Regions from separate parts of the Homo sapiens genome. Here all the other regions are linked to region 1. The links are contacts of gene promoters, found by promoter capture Hi-C in blood cells and fetal thymus (Javierre and others, 2016). All regions are on one chromosome and are shown on one strand. The core of a region is centred on a gene start or on the middle of the fragment in contact, and the rest is flanking DNA. Distances in the headings are between cores, read along the strand shown. Region 1 holds the start of ARAP2 (ArfGAP with RhoGAP domain, ankyrin repeat and PH domain 2). Region 2 overlaps STIM2 (stromal interaction molecule 2). Region 3 overlaps TMEM33 (transmembrane protein 33).

Region 1 (4,951 bases), core at 1,680-4,179:
CATGACTATAAGAAAAGGTAAATGGCACGTATATGAACAATCAGTTCATTATTACTCAGTAAGTGCCAATAAACAATACCAAAGACACCACAAAAAAACAACTTTTTGCAAAGAATTTGATATATTCCAAAAAAAACACTTAAATTGTAATGGTGAGAAAAATCCAATTTTATGACCCTAATTTCCACATGGTTTTATATTTTAGTATTGTTTTAAATACATGGAGAAGTGGCCCCATCATCCTTCATGAGTTCTCAGGAACTCTAAAAAATCTCAAATCTGCCACCTAAACCACTGCTTCAACCCAAATCAGGCCTCCTTTGTTTTCTCTGCAGCATGGGTAAATAAGTAAGCTTGTGCTGAACAGAAACTGAAACAAAATTTCACAGGACAACTTTCTAACTAGAAAAGATCACGTGAGGAGAATACCATTAAGTACTGCTTCATTTAAAGAAGAAACAAGTGAGCAAAATGGTTTAACTACCATTATATATTTAATCTGGCCAATACTTACAAGTAATAACTAAAATGATAAATTACAAGGTCCAGAACTTTGCAGAAAAGATTAAGACAGCGTCTCATAGCCTCTAATCTCACATCCACCATATGTGGTCAAAGCTAAGACATATTTCCCAGATTATTAAGAAGTTCTCTACCTAATTAATATTTCACCAAGAATTCCCAAAACTCTTACAATGTAGCATGTGCAAAGATTGTATCCAAGAAATGTATCAATAAATAAATGAGGACAGGTGGAAATGTATGCTAAAAGAAAACTATTAAAGCAATGACTATTATTTATACTTAGCATTTTTATAGTCACTTTCACCAAACTTTCTCACAGTTGCAGGGAGGTGGGTTAGAAAGTAACAAAACGAAACAACAACAACAACAAAAAACTTCTCATATATCATGAAGTCTATAACCCAGAATTCTACGTAGACTTTAAAACTTCATAGTTTCAATGCGTTAAAGTTCTTAAGAAAACTGTAATTCATTATAATCTGAGTTCTATACTTCTCCACAGTATCCAAGAATAGTTGGATCTGATATTATTGCATATCCATGAGCCTTACACTGCAAGGAGCTTGCAGTGATATTAGAAAAACAAGAATTTGTTTTTAAACGTACCATCAGCTTCTCCTTTTACAGACAAGCCACATAAAATCTGACAGGTTTACAGACGAAGGAAAAAATACAAACACAAGCACACACCCATATAAATACGTTTTAACAAGCTCTCTCACTTACCCTCTAGGTACATTTTAATTCAAATAAATCTTTGAGTACTGACAAATCTATATAAAACCCTCTTCGTGTTAGGAACCACCTTAAATGTGTATGTGTTAAATATGTTTAGAAAGAAGCCAGGAAGATATTTGCACTTAACCCTAGCCTAGTTCCATGACCCACTTTTTTTTCTTCTTTAAACGTTGTTGGACAAAAAATGTCATGAGTATTTTCTCTCAATATTTCTCCTGTAAGTGTATGGAAGTCATAAATAAGAGTTAAAAAAAAAAGAGTTTAAAGGTATTTCTCTTTTTTTCCTTAAAAAAAGTTAGCTTGCTTTTTATCTTCCAATTACTTACGGGCAAAGTTCCATGGGCCTGTGGGGGTGTAGAGTGCTTAAGTGCAGATAAATCAATACTGAGCTTGTAAGTACAATACTATTATGAGTAATAACAATGACATCCTATTAAATGTACTTTTAAAAATAGCTTATTTTCAATACACTTCTTGATTTTTTTTAAACCGAAGGCTGTATTCTACTGAACAGCCTACTTCAAGGACAAGCTTGCAAAAAAAAAAAAAAAAAAAAAAAGAATTTGCTATCAGGATACCTACTTACAACACCCTAAGATGTCATTATTCCACACAAATTAGCTTATTTTCTTGTGTTTTCCTCTAATTATCAAAGGCTATATAATCCACGAACCCTTTCCCCAAATCAAAATAACTCCAGATCACCTCAAGGTAGGAGGTGTTTAAGAAAACAAGCCAGAATTAGATAAAGTAAAACTTACTTTATTAAATAGGATGGACACCACTTCTCCCAAGAGAACTGTCTCCAAAAGTAAACAAGAAAGATCAATCTGGTAAACTCACATCATACAGGTTCCCGTGTAAGGTATCGGGTTCAGGCAGGTGGAAGCCAAATGATCGTAATTAAAGTTAATTAACAGGCCAGTCGTCTTAACGTGGTTAACAAGCAGGGTGCGGGGCAGCACAGACACCCGGGCAAATTCATGATCTCTACCGAGTAAATAACTTGGTGCCTGAAACTCACTACAGCTTCTTCTTATTTAAAGGTAGGGGAGAGGAATGGAGGGAGTGTCCAGCTGTCTATCCGGATCCTCACCCTCCCGGGTCAAATCCCAGAAGTGGAGTTCTTGGATCACTTACCGGCTTCTGGTTTCCTTTCAGACGCCCACACGCGGGAGCGAAATCCAAGGGGCGGACACCAGAGCCGAGCACTTTGCGCTGAGGAAATTTACCCGGTGAAGTGTCGAAAAGCCCCAGCCCCTCCAGACAGGGTCCTCCCACCCCCGCGTGGGCCATCCCGGCCCAGCCTTCCCGAGGCCCCGGGTACTCGCCTTGCGCTCGGGTCGCGGAGTTCGAAAAGCGAGGTGAGGCGGCGCTGGGAAGCTCAGCGCCGGCGTCTCTCCCAGCCTTGGGCGCTCGGTCCTCGCCCCTCTGCCGGAGGCGCCAGGCCTCCTCTTTCCCGGTCCCCGCCGGCTGTCCGCAGTCGCCTCTGCTGCCTGGCGGCGGCCGCGCGGGCGGCGCTGTTAGTGGGGCCGGCGTGTCGCGGCCGCCGCACCTGGAGGCGGGGAGCGCGGGCCGCGGACCCGCGCTCAGCTCCGGAAACGCCGAGCCCGGCGCCCGCGCCTTGCTCAGGTGCTCCCGCGCCTCGCCTCGGCCGCCGCTTCCTCTCCGCCCGCGGGGGCGGGGAGCAGGCGCCCCGCGCGGGGGAAGCCGGAGCTCAACGGCGGGGGCGGCCCAGCCGGCCTCCCTGGTTCCGCAGCATAGTTGGGTGACTGACTCAGACCGCCGCGACTTGGCCGCGCCTGGCACCCTCGCCACCTGGCGCACCTCGGCCCGGAGGCGTCAGACCCCGCTGGGGAAGCTGCGGGGGCGCGCCCTGGAGCCCAGAGCGACAGGGGCATTACCCACCTTCCCGGGACGGAGATGCCCAGGACCTTGTGTTGGCTCCTCCTGGCCAGTGGGTTTGTCTGTGCGCACTCATGGGGGGTTGAATGTCAAATGGGCGGAACCTCGCCACGACTGATTATTAGTATTACTCTTCCAAGTACTTAAAGTGTTAGCTCAGCGTTTCCCAAACTGAAGACTCATCTAGGGCACTATTTTCCCCAGGCTGCTTCTATGTAAATTTGCTCCTTCTTGCACCTGTGGCGGTTAGATCCCAGAGGGGCATTTCCCCTTTGAGTTGGACTCTGACAAAGGAGGCAGCGAAGGAAAATAGGGGATCCCAAAGAACCCTTGTGGACCTCCAAATATCTAAGCGTCCGTAAAATCCAGTTATTTGCAAGTGAGTTCACAGACCAACTACTTTTTTTTTTTTTTTTTAGACAGGGTCTCACTTTGTCACCCAGGCTGGAGTGTAGTGAGGCAATCTCAGCTCATTGCGCCTCCGCCTCTGGGTCCAAGCTATCCTCCCACGTCAGCCTCCCAGGTAGCTGGGATTACAGGCGCGCACCATCAGCCAAGGTAATTTTTTTTGTATTTTTGGTATAGACGGAGTTTCGCCTTGTTGCCCAGGCTGGTCTCAAACTCCTGACCTCAAGTGATCCACCTGCCTCGGCCTCCCAAAGTGCTGGGATTACAGGCGTGAGACACTGCCCCCTACCAGCTTTTTTTTTTTTTTTTATAAACATCTCCCACAGACTACCTGAAATTCTCTTCATTAAAAGGTGAAATGTATTTATCTTTCCCCTGTTCCTGTTGATGGAAGTGAAGCAATTAAGGAAAGCGCAGACCTTATGAAAATGAGATAATTGGTGAAGTGCGGAAAGAGAGAGGCTTCCCACAAGCCTGGGCCCTTAGGATTCTTCAGTCATCACCTTCACCCACACTAACTACCTGCCCAAAGCACCGTCTTTCCCTGGGGAGACTCTGAAGCAGCTCTGTCTTACTAGAGACACCAAATATCCAGTTCCTTTTGAACTTAATACCTCATAGCCGACCTCATTTCCACCAGGAAAGTTTTATTGACATTTTCCAAACCACGGGAACTTTTTCTCTGGATTCCTATAGCATTTATAGGAGGAATTTTATTTATGTGGCTCTTTTCTGGCTTCATTCTCTGTGTGTGTGTGTTTCTTTTGTTCTTTTTCCCTTTTCCCTCTCCAAATTCTCACATACTTCTCTCTTTTTTTTTATCTCTCTCTTTTTTGTTTTTGTTTTTGTTTTCGACTGAGCCCCGCTGTATCGCCCAGGCTGGAGCGTGGAGAGCAGTGGCGCGATCTCAGCTCACTGCAGCCTCCGCCTCCTGGGTTCAAGCCATTCTCCCGCCTCAGCCTCCTGAGTAGCTGGGATTACAGGCATGCACCACCACGCCTAGCTAATTTTCGTGTTTTTAGTAGAGGCAGGGTTTCACCATGTTGGCCAGGGTGGTCTGAAACTCATGGCCTCAAGTGATTCGCCTGCGTTGGCCTCCAGAAGTGCTGAGATTACAGGCGTGAGCCACCATGCCTGGCTCTATTTTTATCATTGTAAGCCATCTTCGGTCCTTCTCTAAACAAGGTGGGTTATAAATAAAAATTATTAGATCAGTTATCTTATGTGTGGGAGGTTCAATCATTGCTTTGTCCTCAAGTTACTTCGCTTGGTAGATTTTATAAACTAATTGAGAAATTGTCTCTCTCCCTCTTCGCAAAAATATCTTAGTTCTTTGATTATTATTCAGTCATTTATTCTTTAAAAATTATTAATC
Region 2 (4,951 bases), core at 185-2,684, 9.4 Mb before region 1:
AAAAGCTTTTTACTTAAATACAGTATAACAGTACAGGAAAGGGCTCAAATCATCAGTATACAGCTCATTTCAACCATTTTTAACAAAGTGAATACTCACATGTTATTAGCACCCAGATCGAGAAACATAATGTTGCCTTTACCCAGAAGTCCTTCATGTCCTCTTGAAATCAGTATGTGCCTTTGCCTAAGGTTAACCACTGTCCTTACTTTAATACCATAGATTTGCTTCCCTATTTTTGAATGTGAATAAATGGAGTCATCAGCATATGATTGTATCAGCTTATTTACTGGACAGCTGTCATTTTATTTTTTGGTATCTGCTAAGACTGGAAAATAGGGGTATCAAGGCTTGAATTGTAAATCTTGATGGTATGAAGGATCCTCCTTTAACTAAAGCATGTAGGATTTTAATGTGTGATATTTGTGACATAGTTTTCATTTCTGACTATTTTTTCAGGTTTATGTTTTGCCTGGGTGAATTCAGAATGTAACTTTCAGATATACAAATTGTTTACCTTGGTTACCAGGCTATGTAGTTTATAAGAGCAGTAAAACTGAAAATATAGCATTCAGTGCTAGTTGTATTATGAGAATGAAGCCAAATTTAGCACCTCAGGTTATATATATATATATATATATATATATATATATATATATATATATATATATATGTATATGTCTATTCATGTAAATATGCAGTGTTGATTTATCCTAATTACTGAGACATTCCATTATGGCTTATTGAAAATTACATATAAACCTTATTTTAAATCTGATTTTTAGATACTTGAGTTTTAAGAAGCTGATCACCATGCGCCAGTTCCTCTTATTTGACAAACAAGGAAGTTGTGGCTATGTGAGCTCATAATTTGAGGTTCAGTGGAACAGAGGAGAACTGTGACGGGCAGAACATTTACTTTCATATTCTCTGTAAAACCAAATCAGTGAGAAGGATGCAAGGAGAACTAGGACAGTATATGAACTTTTTCCTTCTTAAAGCTTTTTCTGTGTAGGAGCATATTCATATAACTGAGAAGATTGTTTGAAATTTTAGCTTAAGGCTAATATATTATTTCAATATATACTCATTGAACACTTACAGATATTGTTGTAGGTATTGGAGCAATGAAGAAAACGATGAGCTTAATTTCACTGAGGATAAGACAGTTAACAAGTAGACAAATATTTATCAGGAGATGATAAATGCAATGAAGGAAAATAAAATAGGTGAGAAGGTAGAGAATGTTAGGGAAAGTATATGTGTGTTTGCTGTTATTTAAGGTGGTCAGGGAAATCTTCATAGTTGACATTTGACAAGAGAGAAGGGAGAGACAGAGGGATGAGACCCTTCAGGTGGAGAGAATGGCATGTGCATGGGCCCTGATGGATACCATTGTTGGATTTTTGGAGAAACTTCCAGGAGACCACAGGGCTGGTGTAGAGTAAGCAATGGAGAGAGTAATAGATAGATCAGAGAGGTTGTCTGGGCTAGAATGTACAGTCTTGTAGACATCATCTACAAGATGTGAGGACATTGTCATTGTATGTCATGTACTCTGAGATGGGGAGCTACTGCAGGGTTTTTGAGAAGTGTGACATGATTTGATTTATGTTTGGAAATGATCACTTCAGCTCTTTCACTGAAATGACACTCTAGAAGGTCTAGTCTTAGAGCAGGGAGACCAATTAGTAGGCTTTTGTCCGGGGAGAGAAAGTGCTAGAGCTCCCTTGTTAGCTATGGAGGTGGTAATAGGTGGTATAGGTGGAGCTATATGTGGATGCTAAATACAGTGAAAGCCCTTCTGTTCTGTTGTCCTGAAAATCAAGTTCATTGTTATATGAACTTTATTGTGAAGTAAAGACATAAAAGCTTATGCCTTTATAGGATATAATTTAAAGAGCTAGGAAATTGGAACAACCCGTAGTGTTCAACTGCTGAATGTTACAAGATACAATAAGCACCAAACCAAATAATTAAACTTTTTTTTTTTTTTTTTTTTTTTTGCCTCTTGCCTTGTCCGTGATCCCTTTAAAACTTAGAATTTATTTGAGCTTTTTTTCTTTACTGTTTTGTTTGATGTTGCTTTCATTTTCTACTTGGGTTAAGATGTATCTTGCTAATAATCTAAGATCACACCGTGCTGTTACAGAATTACAGACTTTGATTGAACTCAAGGAAGTGGACAAAGCCTAAAGCTCAAACTGTCTGCTAATTACAGGAACTTCTCCGGTGTATCCCTTATAGACTGTCATTCATTAGCTCCTCAGATACTTTGGGTGGTTGGGAACTTATTGCTCCTGAACAACTTTTCCATTAGTAGGCAGTTCTGGTTTGTGAGAAGTTCTTTGTTGCATTAAACTAAAATCTTTCAGTACTTTCTTTGGGTTCTAGATGTATCCTTTGAAGCAAAGAGTGGCTATTTTTTCTCTTAATGTTTTAAAAGACCCTGTATTAGGGTTCTGTACAGAAATAGAACCAGAAGGAATGAATGTATATGTTCATTATTACAAATTAATAATATAATTTTATATAGTGCATATCTGTAATTATATTACCAATTATTTAGTTGCACTTAAAATACTCAAAGATGTAACTTAAAATAATTAATTGTTTTATACATGTATCTACATATCTACATAGATAGACATAGGTAAAACATAGAGACTTATTTCAAGGAATTGGCTGAGGTAATTGAAAAGATCCAAATCCAAATCCAAAATCCATAGGATAGGCTGGCAGATTGGAAACTCTTGGGCAGGCGATGATGCTGCAGTCGTGGGGCAGAATATTTCTTTCTCAGAAAAGGCTTTCCTGCTGATTGGATCAGGCCCACCCACATTTCCAAGAATAATTTCCTTTGCTTAAAGTCAACTGATTGTAGATGTTAACTGTGTTTACAAAATACCATCACAGTAGCACCCAGGTTAGTGTTTGATTGAATAACTGGATACTATAGTTTAGACAAGTTGATACATAAAACTGTCATAGTCCATCCTTGTCAACTTGGCGCCCATACACATCTTCTTAAATGATACTTAATCTCCAAATGAACGCAATAACAAAGTCATACTTCTGCCTAACATAATATGAATATCCTTCAAACAACTGAAAACATGCCAACCCTTTCCCCAGAAGAGGATGCGGAGTCCCTGGGTAATGTTCATTCTCCCTAATAAGCTATAACTTAAATATCATGATGTAAAGTTAGCTATTATTAATATATCTTATGTCAGATGATAAAGGGATTAAAGAGCAAGAAAACAAAGATATTTGCTAAATATTTGAATACATTCGTTACAAAATAAGACATAACAGTTACAGTTTTCTGTGGCTGGTCACATGGTCGTAGCTGGTTTTTGTTTATGATTACCTTCTTGCACTATCCATTCCATTTTTCCCTTTCCCTTAGCAAGCACCTTAGCTCTTTGTGGTTCTTTGCCTGTTGGGGTGATCCAAAACTTTGTTCCTGAAGGGTCTGGGCATACCCAATTTAAGTAGTCCTTAAATTGGGTTATTGTAGTTTTCCATTGACTTTAATCACAGAGCATGGCAGTAATTACAAGATCTCTTGTATTCCGGACTTAGTCTTTTAATCACAGAGCGTGAAAGTAATTACAAGATCTCTCGTATTCTGGACTTAGTCTTTCATACCTCCATTGTATGGTAGCAGTTGAATTTCTTCTTAGTAACCAGCAACCCTGGTCAGTACACTAACCCTGGGTCTTCTTTGCCTGTTCATTCTGAGGCATGAGGAGTTCAAAGTGGCCAGGTGGTAGTCTTAATGTCGGTTCAGTGGAATCATTCTATCTCCCAGTGGAAACAGTCCTCTTTTTGGAAATAAGGCCTCTAGACCAGCAGAGGATAAGGTTAAAGAATAGGCAACAAAAATTTCGCTAGTGAAACAATAGGGATAATAGTGAGTGGCCCCACTCTTATTTCTCTCTCTGGATTCTGGGATCCATGAATCCTGGCCATGGGAGAAATAGCACCATACATTGGATGCTGATTTAGAGCATACATAGCCTCATGGAAAACATTGCACAAGTTTTTGTCACCTTGCTGACAACGTAACTGAGTCTTCAAAAATCCATTCTACCATTCTATTAAGCCAGCTGCTTCAGGATGATGAGGAACATGGTAAGACCAGTGAATTTTATTAGTATGGGTCCACTGTTACACTTCATGTGCTGTAAAGTGTGTTCCTTGATCAGAAGCAATGCTGTGTGAAGCACCTAGATGGTGGATAAGGCATTCTGTGGGTTTGGCAGAATGCTTGCATGCAGGGAAGAGAAATCCATATCTAGAGTATCTGTTGTAATAAGAACAAAACAGTGCCCCATTCATGATGGCAGTGGTCCAATATAATCAGCCTTTCATGAGATAGTTGGCTGATCACTCTGGGGAACGGTGCCATATCAGGGACTCATTATTGGTTTCTGTAACTGGCAGATTGGGCCTCATTAGCACCTGTAGCCAGGTCGGCCTTGGTACATAGAAGTTCATGTTGCTGAGCCACCTTCCTCCTTCCTATGGCCTCTTCGTTCATGACAGAAGTGGCTAGGGAAAAAAGCTGGCTGGGATCTGCAGAATGAGTTATTCTATCTACTTGATTATTAAAATCCTGCTCTGCTGAGGTCACCTTTTGGTCAGCATTCACGTGGGACACAGATTCCTTCACATTTTTTGCCCAAAGAGGTCTATCTACATTATTTCTCCAGATCCTCTTGTTACCATTTTCCCAATTATGTCCTTCCAATTCTGTGACCATCTAGCTAAACAGTAGGCCACATCCTATGAATTGGTGTACACGGTGGCACCTCTGGCCATTTCTTCTTCCAAGCAAAATGAGAGCCAAGTGTGCTGCCCAAAGTTCTGTCCACAGGAGAGTTTTCCTTCATTACTATCCCTGTCCCAGAAAGGCAGTTAGTGCTACAGCCATCTGCTTTGT
Region 3 (4,951 bases), core at 1,484-3,983, 5.7 Mb after region 1:
TAATCTGGGACAGCAGAAAAAGGGACAACATCAACATTCTAATATTTTTTCCATCATTTATAGGTTTTTCTTTCCACCTCTTTCTTTTGTGATCCTGATCTACACTTAGAAACTTTAATTATTAATTAGTAAGAGGAACTTTTTGCTCCCTTTTGTTATTCATTTTTCTCGGGTTTTTGTGTCACTTAATCCTGCTTTTGGGTCAGGATCACAGGTTCTGTGATTTGTTTCATGTAACTAGATGAAAGTTAAAATGGTAGATACCAGGCCGAGCACGGTGGCTCACAGCCTGTAAACCCAGCACTTTGGGAAGCCAAAGCTGGCAGAGCATGAGGTCAAGAGATCGAGACCATCCTGGCCAATGTGGTGAAACCCCGTCTCTACTAAAAATACAAAAATTAGCTGGGCCTGGTGGTGTGTGCCTGTAGTCCCAGCTACTCGGGAGGCTGAGGCAGGAGAATCGCTTGAACCCTGGAGGCAGAGGTTGCAGTGAGCCGAGATCGTGCCACTGCGCTCCAGCCTGGCGACAGACCAAGACTCCCTCTCAAAAAAAAAAAAAAAGATAGATACCGAGACTAGTTTTTTTGTATGGGTATAATTGATGTCTATATCCTGAAACCTCCAGATTCTGTTTAGTAAGCAAAATAATTTCTTATGCTCCTCTTAAATCAGATTAAAATAATTTTAATGAAATTCTGAGATGCCATGCAAACTTAGACAAAAACTTCACTTTGGAACTATAGTGAATTTTTTGTTAGGAGCACCAGGTTTTGACTGCGTTGGTACATTAATTCAATTGTGCTCCTTAAATGTTTAATTTAAACATTTATTTGTACAAACTTACCATCTTAATTTTTAAGATTACTGTAAAAAAGATGAGAATTTACCAGAAATGTTTAAATAGAGAAATAATTTTGTTTGAAAAATTAAAATCAGCTTATAAAGTGGTACTTAATTCCTATTAGGAAAAGCTGTTAATGCCTTAAGTAGGTAGTTTGAATATGACCTAAACAATAAAATTAAGAACAGTCTTACATTACTGCTATTCTTAATATGCTACCCTTTCTGGTATACACACAGTCTAATATTAGGAGGCTTTATCAAGTTACATTTGTGCCAGTAATGCTTCAAGCTCTGTATTTAAAAATTGATGCATTGTCTGAGTTTATCTTACACATGCGTTGCACATGTGTGCAAAGACAGGTAAAAGGATCATTGTGGCTTTTCTTCTAATTGACTGGAGCCACCCAAATATTCATTAGTACGGAGTTTGTTACATAATAGTCCAAGCATTAGATGGTATATTTGAAGCTGTAAAAAAGATTGCGGTAATTTATGTGTTGTGATATGGGATAATCACCAAGATATAATAAGTTAAACTTAGTTGTGTAGGGTGTTCTCCATTTATATTTAGTGGGGTGTATGTGTGTAAGGACATAGACGTTTCTGTCTCAGTTTTTTGGGAATGATAAACCATCTCTGTCCTAGAGTTGTTAAACAGATTTAGTGAATTATAAAGTGAGCACTATCAATGTTAGTCATTATATACACTTGTATATATACATTTCTGGAAGGACATATTCGAGATTGTGGTATAAGTTTGAGGAAGGGGCTAACTTGGATGATGGGAAACTTGTTTTTTAAGTGAATATTTTCTATTTATATTTTCTATGTTGTGTCTCTTACATTTTCACTTTAAAAAGATAAAAATTTGTCAAATTATTAGGGAAAATGGATGTTGCATTTGTTTAGTGGTAAGTTCGTAATCGTGTAAATTTTTTTTAATGAAAATGATACAATTTAGAAGAAAAGGCTAAAAAACCTAATAAAACACATTTGGCATCTTAATATATTTCTTCCAATTTAAAAAAATACAATTGTAATAATATGTGTAGTTTTATATTCTGCTTTTTTCAGAGTTGCTATGTAATTTTCATAACCAAGATTCTAGGTAGTTGCATATTAAATCCATTAAATAACCATAATATAAGTTGTTCAATTCTACTTCCTTACAGTTCACATTAGGTTGTTGCCACATTTTGTTTGTAGTTATTTCAGTGAATGTCTTAATTCAGATAGTTTTTCTTAGGGAAGAATTCCAGACCTGGTATTTCATAAACATATATATAATTCTTGGGATATTGTAATTGTGTTTTTTAACCAAGAACAATAATTAGTATAGGCTGTTTAGATTTACTGATGAGCCAGTGTAATTTTTTTGGTGGAGGGGAGTGTTTGTTTCTTTTTATATATATAAAATAAGTCACTTTTCATTTGCATATTTTATGAAGCTTTACAACTTGATTTCATCAATTAGTAATTACGGAATTATTTAACATTTTCTGATTTATTTAGTATTTTAAAAAATTTCAAAAGTAATACAGATAAGAATACATTTATAAAAAAATTAAACAACATTTTACTCTTTACCAATCATGTACATTCTTTTATATCCTTTTTTAAGGATAACTTGGATTTAGACATGATAGATTTCACTATGACCATTTGATGAATGAAGATACACATATTCTCCAGTTGAATTGCTTTTAAGTTTTGAGAGTATACACATGAATTGAAATGTATATTTATCACGCTTGTATTTGTTTATTTCAGTGGTCAAGGAAGTTTGCTCCAACCTTTTATATACTATAGATTTCTTACCCTTCGATATTCGTCTCGAAGAAACCCATATTGTCGGTAAGCTGATGATTATTTTAGGCATGTTTTATTTGTTGAGAGTATTGTGAATATATAGTATTCGCAATTCTTAAGAGTTACTTAGCTAATGTGTTAGACTTTAGAAGCAAGCAGTGTTTTTGTAAATTTAAGTTCTAGGCCTTAGAATGTACTGGGGTTGGTGAGGAAGTGGTTGTATTTGTTCTTAGAAACTGAGACTGCAGTTATCTACGCCACCTCTAAAGCACTGCTAAAACTTAGCAAATTTTAAAATGTATAAGACATAGATTCCACTCTCAACTTTCCTAGTTGAAGAAACAAAACACGTGTCAATTAGATAAACAATGGTTAGGATACAGAATTCACAAGCCAATAGATAATGAATGCCATATGTTTGCTTTATTATATCAGTACTGCAGTCCACAGAAGGGAGAGATCATTGGGCCAGAAGATAGATGAGCCCAGGAAGGTTTCACAAAATTGAGATTGTGGGAGGAGTAAAGCTTTTGAATAGGGAAAAGCATTTTAGGTGGGGCAAGAGAGACGAGAAGCACAAGCCATATTTGAGGAACTTTATGTAGAGCTGTTTTGACTCTAATGGAGATTCTGAATGGCTAATTGCTGGAGCTAAGATTAGAAAGGTATATTGGAGCTATATTATAAAACTTCTTGAGTTTTAGGGTAAGAAGTTTGGAATTTATCTTTTAGGTGAATGGGAATGATGGTTTTGACATCGTCAGAATATTCTTCTGATACCCTTGTGCCAGAAGAGTTTGAAGCAGAAAAATGGGGAAGCAGAGAAATTTTAGGGAATTACTGTAGTTTTCAGGAATGGAGGCTTAAATTAATATACACTAAATTATGCATTCTGATCTCAAGCATTGGAGTAAAACTAAAATGATACTCAAATACTAATATTAAGATAATCTATTTTTAAGTTTAAAATAATGTAGAATTCAGCTAGAAATCCAATGAGTGCATTACAGCAATCTGTATATTTTCATAAGTACAGTAAAAAGAACTTGAATTTGAATGCTGGCCCATCATTAACTAGTTGTGTGACTAGGCAGGTTATTTATTTGGATTTCTTCATTGGTAGAGGAAATAACTCCTTCTGGGGGTGAAGCGAAGTAATATTTTAAAAGTACTTAGACTGTTATGTTCTTACTAGTTCATTTTCATTATTCTATGATCTGATTTTCTGTTCAGAGCGTTTTTATGCTCTATTAGACAATGTCTTTTTTATAATACTTTCTAAAATAGAACTTATTTTAGACATTCGTTCTTAGTGAGTCTCTAGTAGCAAATTAACATTCATTTTTACTTGATTTCTTGAGTTTTAGCCTTTTTTCTTTCTGGTCCCTATATTCATTTCAGACATTATCTTATATTCTCTTGCCCTGACATCTGTTATTTTAATCAGCATATTTGTTTTTCTGTGCTTCTTTGTGCCTCCTTCTCCATTCCCATTTTCTTCACATACCCTTAAATCATATTAGTACATCTAGAATTCAGTTTTCAGTGGACTGAAAAGGAAAGGATAGCAGTGAATCAAGATAACACAAATATGTGCTGGTAAACATCTTCAAAGCTGTCTTATAAGCACCCATTTTAACCAAACCAGTGGAAAGGTAATGGAAAATATTTCAGCTTGTAAATATTGATAAACAGGCTATAAAACTACATTTTCAGTACTACACTTTTTTTAATTAAAGGTTTTGAGACCATCTCTATTCACAATTTGTACCATTTTCACCTACGATATTTATTCTCAAGTTGGTGGTTTCAGTTGTTTTTGGATCTCTAGTGCAGATTGTCTATAGCTGTGCTGTCCAGTACAGCACAGCAACCACATTTGACCTTTAAATAAAATTCATAAAACTTAGAACTTGGTTCCTTTTGAGCACAGTTCAGGTGGGTACTCAAAAGCCATGTGTTGCTGATGGCAACTGTGGGTCAGCACACATATGCAAAAATTTTGTCATTACTCAAAGTTCTGTTGTCAGTGCTATTAAGGAACTCTCTGACTGGTCCTTCAGCACAGATATGCAAAAATTTTATCATTGTTCAAAGTTCTGTTGTCCGTGCTGTTAAGGAACTCTGACTTGGTCTGTGCCAGCGATGCAGCCAGTAATAAAAGAACTATGTGACTTTAGTGAAAGCGATTGACTTCATTAGTCCTCATGTCTTCTAGCTTTATTCATTTGACTGATTGGTTAAAACAGTGATTGTATGTTGATGAACTTATGTGGAATTAAAATATCTTCTTTCAGAG

What was found. The method cuts DNA at HindIII sites, captures the fragments that hold promoters and counts their contacts. A CHiCAGO score of 5 or more calls a contact.
Region 2: a fragment that was not itself captured here is called in contact with the fragment with the promoter of ARAP2 in region 1 in 3 of 17 cell types (non-activated CD4 T cells, total CD8 T cells and total CD4 T cells); the score reaches 10.0 in non-activated CD4 T cells.
Region 3: a contact is called between a fragment that was not itself captured here and the fragment with the promoter of ARAP2 in region 1, in 1 of 17 cell types (M0 macrophages). The highest score is 6.1, in M0 macrophages.

Annotation. Positions count from the first base shown.
Region 1 is chr4:36,241,585-36,246,535 of GRCh38, forward strand. It overlaps ARAP2 (ArfGAP with RhoGAP domain, ankyrin repeat and PH domain 2), which reads right to left and starts at 2,930. Exons shown (of 33, transcript NM_015230.4): 1 at 2,595-2,930. LOC439933 (a long non-coding RNA gene) reads left to right here and starts at 2,532. Exons shown (of 5, transcript NR_122079.1): 1 at 2,532-2,627; 2 at 3,588-3,726. RefSeq lists a silencer at 2,726-3,305. The HindIII fragment of the contact is 5,605 bases long and covers 1,793-4,951 here.
Region 2 is chr4:26,885,202-26,890,152 of GRCh38, forward strand. All of the region lies in intron 1 of STIM2 (stromal interaction molecule 2), which reads left to right. Among named protein-coding and RNA genes, the nearest start is that of STIM2, 27 kb to the left of the region's middle. The HindIII fragment of the contact is 871 bases long and covers 1,000-1,870 here.
Region 3 is chr4:41,946,689-41,951,639 of GRCh38, forward strand. TMEM33 (transmembrane protein 33) reads left to right here. Exons shown (of 7, transcript NM_018126.3): 6 at 2,614-2,697. Among named protein-coding and RNA genes, the nearest start is that of TMEM33, 14 kb to the left of the region's middle. The HindIII fragment of the contact is 888 bases long and covers 2,290-3,177 here.